Linked DNA regions of Homo sapiens: region 1 is linked to region 2. The links are contacts of gene promoters, found by promoter capture Hi-C in human tissues and cell types (Jung and others, 2019). All regions are on one chromosome and are shown on one strand. Each heading gives the region's core, a stretch centred on a gene start or on the middle of the fragment in contact. The rest is flanking DNA. Distances are from core to core; before and after follow the strand shown. Region 1 overlaps DIRC3 (disrupted in renal carcinoma 3). Region 2 holds the start of IGFBP5 (insulin like growth factor binding protein 5).

Region 1 (2,942 bases), core at 378-2,877, 660 kb before region 2:
AAGCAACTGCATTTCAACTGAGATACATCATCTTGCTATCTTGCTTATAATTGAAGGCCATAGTTTCTGTTGATTTAGGAATAGTTCTGGTGATCAGAAAAAGTCTCATTATAAGATGACTTTTTCCTAGGACAAAATCCTAAAAAGGGGGGTGATTTTTCTAGGGAATAGGAAAGTCACCCTCCTATGAAATCACCCTCCTGGGTGAAATTAGCTGTACCTTCCTGTTCTGGGATCCCATATACCCTATACTTCCCCTATCATGTCTGTTTCATATGAACAGCATTTCATATTCTAACTCGTGGTGCTTCTTTAAGACTTCTCGTACCTTAAACTCTAGGAAGGTAGGAGCCCTATGTGACTTTTTCAATGCTATGTCTCCTATTCCTGAGACAAAACATATGTTCAGTAAATACTGACCGGAGGAATATCTGCTCGTTTCCTGCTCAACACTCTGGCAGAAATGAGGAACAAGGCCTCTGTGAGTGTAAGGGCTTTTTTGTCAACTGGATTTATCTGCTGCCTTTATTTCTGCCATGGCAGCTACTATCTCCTTGGGTTAAGAGCATTGAACTGGAAGAAGCTTGTCATTTTACCAACTGCAAAATGTGGGGAGGGGGAATAAGGAGAGGTGAGGTGAGGAGCCCATAAACTTAGGAGAACCTTATATGTGGGGTCAGTGTAGCTAGAAGAAGGTCAGCAGCTATTTGATCAGCTTCTCCTTTGTAACCTCAGATCTCACCAGTAATTAAACTGATGGAATATGCTCTAAATCCCTAGGCTTCATGTCCCTGGGGCCCTAGTGGTTTTGATGAATAGCCTCCACTATGAGGCACCCTGAAGGCAGTCCCCTGTGTGAATACAAATCTTGCCTTCTTGCCCCACCCCCATTTATTCTACACCTATCACCCACAAACCCCAACCCCTCCACTTCTTTTGCTCTACAAACTATTAGGAAGACATCCAATAAGTCATCCCAGCTGAAGTAGCATGGCAGGAGAAACACCTCATCCATAACCACCTCAACCACTCCCTTTGTCAAAAGTAGGGTGAGATAAAGACTTTAGTATCCTTTGGAAAAACTCAGCATCTGGACAATACATGCTAGGAAAGAACCTGTTCCTTCATCTCCCAACCCTGGGCAAGGTGGATGACCACACCTTGAGTGGGCAGCGTATAGAGTTGGAGGAATCTTACATTGTTGCTTTCAAATGGCACCCTTGAATATTCCCAAAACACACCATTGTGTTTGGAAGCCCAGGGGAAGGAAAGGAGCCACAAGCAAATTCAAGCATGCCTCAAAATCCTAAAAGTAAATCTCGAGCCAGACTGCCAAAGTTTAAATCCCAACTGAACTACAGGCTAGCAATGTGATTTGGGGAAAGTTTCTTTACCCCTAGTCACCTCTGTTTTCCCTGTAAAATAGGGATAATAATTATACTCAAGTTGGCCAGGAGTGGTGGCTCATGCCTGTACAATCCCAACATTTTGAGAGGCTGAGGCAGGCAGATCACTTGAGGTCTGGAGTTCGAGACCAGCCTGGCCAACATGGTGAAACCCTGTCTCTACTAAACATACAAAAATTAGCCAGTTATGGTGGCTGGTGCCTGTAGTCCCAGCTACTGGGGAGGCTGAGACAGGAGAACTGCTTGAACCCTGGAGGTGGGGGTTGCAGTGAGCCAAGATTGTGCCACTGTACTCCAGCCTGGGCAAGACAGTGAGACTCCGCTTCAAAAACCAACAAACAAAAAATAATAATAATGATACCCAAGTCAAGGGTAATTAGAAATATTAAATAAGCTTATTCAAGAACAGGACTTAGCACAAAGCATAGTACCTGAAAAATCCTCAGTAGAAACTATCTGGTTGTTATTGTTATTATTACTATTAACTGTATTGTTATTATTACTATTAGTTCTCCATAAATTGTTTTACCAAGTAGCATAGTTAAGTAAAACTAAATAGGAAGACATCTACAGAAATATTAAAGGAGGGATTTGAGGCAAGATGGCCAACTAGACTCAGCTAAGTGGAACAGCTGCCACCGAGGTACCTGGATGACTGGCATGCTCCTAACAGATCTTCAGAGGAAAGGCACTGAGAGTGGACAGAGGGAAGACACAGAAGCTGGGCTGAAGGAGAAAGAAGCTGGAAATCCCACATGGGGCTGCTGTACACCAGAACTTGTTCTTGGCCCCCAGTGACTGGGAGAACATGTGAGTTGATCTGGCAAGGAGCAACCTGCTCTCGCCATGGATCTCCTGAATCCTGGCAGAGGGAGACCCCTCTACAACCAGAGACACTTGAGTTGGCAGGGAGAGCTGCCAGAGAAATGGTAGGGACAGTACTCTAGTCCCTGTAGAGCCCAGAGGGTTTGGTGCAGGAGCATCTGTAGCAGAGGTTGGCTGTAGATGCCCATCCCCTTAGGCTTGCCTTCTTCCCATAGAAGATTTTAGCCCTAGGGGAACTGTCAGACCTGAACTGTGAGGGGAGGTTTTGCCCATCAGACAGGGCTCTTGTGCACCCCTTGGTCTGCTGGCCTCTCCCAGAGCCCCAGCTGAACCACACCTGCTTGCAGTGCAGCCTCGGGTGCCCTGGGGGCCTACATCACAGCTCCTGCACTGGTGGACCACACCTGACCAGCAGAGAGCTCCAGCAGAGCAGCCCCCATGGACATGCACCAGCTTGCTCACTCCCTCTGCCCACTGTAGCTTCCCCTGGGCCATGGCCACCCCCCACATATCTTTGCCAGCACGTGTGTGCCTGGGCAGATTTTGCCTTCCCTGACCTGCCAGCATGCGTGTGAGCGTGCATCCTGCCCTGCCGCTGCTGCCAATGTGAGTGCCCCCCAACACCCTAACCCCCACCACCATACTGCCATTGCAGTCTGAGCCTTGGTGGGCACAGAACCCATCAGCCCTGCCCCTACAGAGCCCCGCCCC
Region 2 (2,700 bases), core at 148-2,647:
TCCAGAAAGAATTCTTATCATAGATAAGGGTGCAGTCTAGTGGCAAACTTCATGAAATGCAGCCCCTTCTCCAAAGGAAAGTTAGAATACTTCTCAAGGGAGGAAGCACAATGTAAAAGGTGTAACAGCCCACACCAAGTCCACCCAGCAGGGGCAGTGACATTGGTCATTTCTCTCTGACTTGCCTGTGAGGCTCATGGCTCACTCAGGTCAATTTCAGAAAAAGCTAAAACCACCACCTTCCTATTTCAAGGCCTTAGTTTTCTTTCATTTTATTAAAGAGGTTCTAGTGGCATGATTCGGTTCCTGGTCAGGACCTCTTCCAAGCAGGTCCTGTGGCCCTGTCAGCTCATATTCCTGGGATGTGCCTATAAGCACCAACTAACCTGTCAACCTATCACAAGGTCTCCTCCAGCTACTCTGCCACCCACTCCCTCCAGGGATGTGGCCCTGCCCAATAGAAATACCTCTGCAAAGTGACAGAGAGGGAAGTGTCACTCCAATCCACCTTTCTTCCCTCTAAGAACCCCACACACAAGGACACTTTAGGCCACCATGCAAGGTTTTCAGACTTAGCATTTCCTCCAAAGTGTCCATCTCTGCAACTCACTGCTCTCAATAATGCTGTTGTATGAATGTCCATTCCTGCAGATACACAACACACACACATACACACACACACACAGAGAGAGAGAAAGAGAGAGAGAACCTCCCTGGCCAACGCAGCTGAAGGCAACTGGTCACCTCTTCATCATGAGTACTGAAACCCCCTGATTAAATCCTCTTCTCCAGACTTTTAGGGGAGAAATTCAATTTTTTCTTCTTTTTTAAATTTAGCTCACCAGACATCACTGGCCATTCTACACTACCTGTCCCCCAAACACACACACACACACACCCCACATGGAAACAGACACCAGCATACAGTCAATTGCAGAAGCTTAGGAAGATTTCTTGGGCACGGTATATCCAGTTGGCTAATAAGAAAATACGTCTCCCTTCAGCCTGTGCCTTGACTACTTAAAGGATAGGAGGGAAGGGGAGACGAAGTTACTCTCCTCATTGTGTTCACCCTGCTCCGAAGAACTCTGTCTTCCACTGGCCCCTCCACCTCCTCCCCATTCTCGGTAGCCCCAGCCTGTCCCCCTTGCCCCTTTCTTACATTCCGGGGGGAGGAGGGCGCTGTTCAGAGGGGAGGAGGGCGCTGTTCAGGGAGCGAAGGGGAGCCCCCTTGTGTCTAGAAGGCCTCTCCCCACCCCCACCCCGTGTGAGTTTGTACTGCAAAGCTCCTTGGCATCCTTGCCTGAGTTGGGTGTTGGGAAGCTCAAATTGCAGCTACAAACTGGCTGGCAGCCAGGGGCCGGCTATTTAAAAGCGCCTGCTCTCCCGGAGCCCCGTAGTCTCTTTGGAAACTTCTGCAGGGGAAAAGAGCTAGGAAAGAGCTGCAAAGCAGTGTGGGCTTTTTCCCTTTTTTGCTCCTTTTCATTACCCCTCCTCCGTTTTCACCCTTCTCCGGACTTCGCGTAGAACCTGCGAATTTCGAAGAGGAGGTGGCAAAGTGGGAGAAAAGAGGTGTTAGGGTTTGGGGTTTTTTTGTTTTTGTTTTTGTTTTTTAATTTCTTGATTTCAACATTTTCTCCCACCCTCTCGGCTGCAGCCAACGCCTCTTACCTGTTCTGCGGCGCCGCGCACCGCTGGCAGCTGAGGGTTAGAAAGCGGGGTGTATTTTAGATTTTAAGCAAAAATTTTAAAGATAAATCCATTTTTCTCTCCCACCCCCAACGCCATCTCCACTGCATCCGATCTCATTATTTCGGTGGTTGCTTGGGGGTGAACAATTTTGTGGCTTTTTTTCCCCTATAATTCTGACCCGCTCAGGCTTGAGGGTTTCTCCGGCCTCCGCTCACTGCGTGCACCTGGCGCTGCCCTGCTTCCCCCAACCTGTTGCAAGGCTTTAATTCTTGCAACTGGGACCTGCTCGCAGGCACCCCAGCCCTCCACCTCTCTCTACATTTTTGCAAGTGTCTGGGGGAGGGCACCTGCTCTACCTGCCAGAAATTTTAAAACAAAAACAAAAACAAAAAAATCTCCGGGGGCCCTCTTGGCCCCTTTATCCCTGCACTCTCGCTCTCCTGCCCCACCCCGAGGTAAAGGGGGCGACTAAGAGAAGATGGTGTTGCTCACCGCGGTCCTCCTGCTGCTGGCCGCCTATGCGGGGCCGGCCCAGAGCCTGGGCTCCTTCGTGCACTGCGAGCCCTGCGACGAGAAAGCCCTCTCCATGTGCCCCCCCAGCCCCCTGGGCTGCGAGCTGGTCAAGGAGCCGGGCTGCGGCTGCTGCATGACCTGCGCCCTGGCCGAGGGGCAGTCGTGCGGCGTCTACACCGAGCGCTGCGCCCAGGGGCTGCGCTGCCTCCCCCGGCAGGACGAGGAGAAGCCGCTGCACGCCCTGCTGCACGGCCGCGGGGTTTGCCTCAACGAAAAGAGCTACCGCGAGCAAGTCAAGATCGGTGAGCGCGCTCAGTGTGCCAGTCAGTTACGCGGCGCACGGGCGGGGGACACGAGACCGGCTGGGCCCGCGCGCTTTGCGCAGCAAGTGGCTTCGAGCTGGGGTGCAGCTCGGGAGTAGTCGGGGAGGGTCCTTGCACCCCGGAATTGGAGCCCTGGAGGATCCTGCTACCCGGGGGAACTGTCTAGCCGAGT

The links. Contacts are between HindIII fragments. The study calls those that stand out against the background at their distance.
Region 1: a fragment that was not itself captured here is called in contact with the fragment with the promoter of IGFBP5 in region 2 in 2 of the 25 tissues and cell types used here (bladder and lymphoblastoid cells).

The regions. Positions count from the first base shown.
Region 1 is chr2:217,351,311-217,354,252 of GRCh38, reverse strand. All of the region lies in intron 8 of DIRC3 (disrupted in renal carcinoma 3), which reads left to right. Among named protein-coding and RNA genes, the nearest start is that of DIRC3-AS1, 70 kb to the right of the region's middle. The HindIII fragment of the contact is 3,014 bases long and covers 121-2,942 here.
Region 2 is chr2:216,694,246-216,696,945 of GRCh38, reverse strand. IGFBP5 (insulin like growth factor binding protein 5) reads left to right here and starts at 1,397. Exons shown (of 4, transcript NM_000599.4): 1 at 1,397-2,507. The coding sequence starts at 2,171. IGFBP-AS1 (IGFBP5 antisense RNA 1) reads right to left here and starts at 2,500. Exons shown (of 6, transcript NR_187138.1): 1 at 2,185-2,500. The HindIII fragment of the contact is 12,405 bases long and covers 1-2,700 here.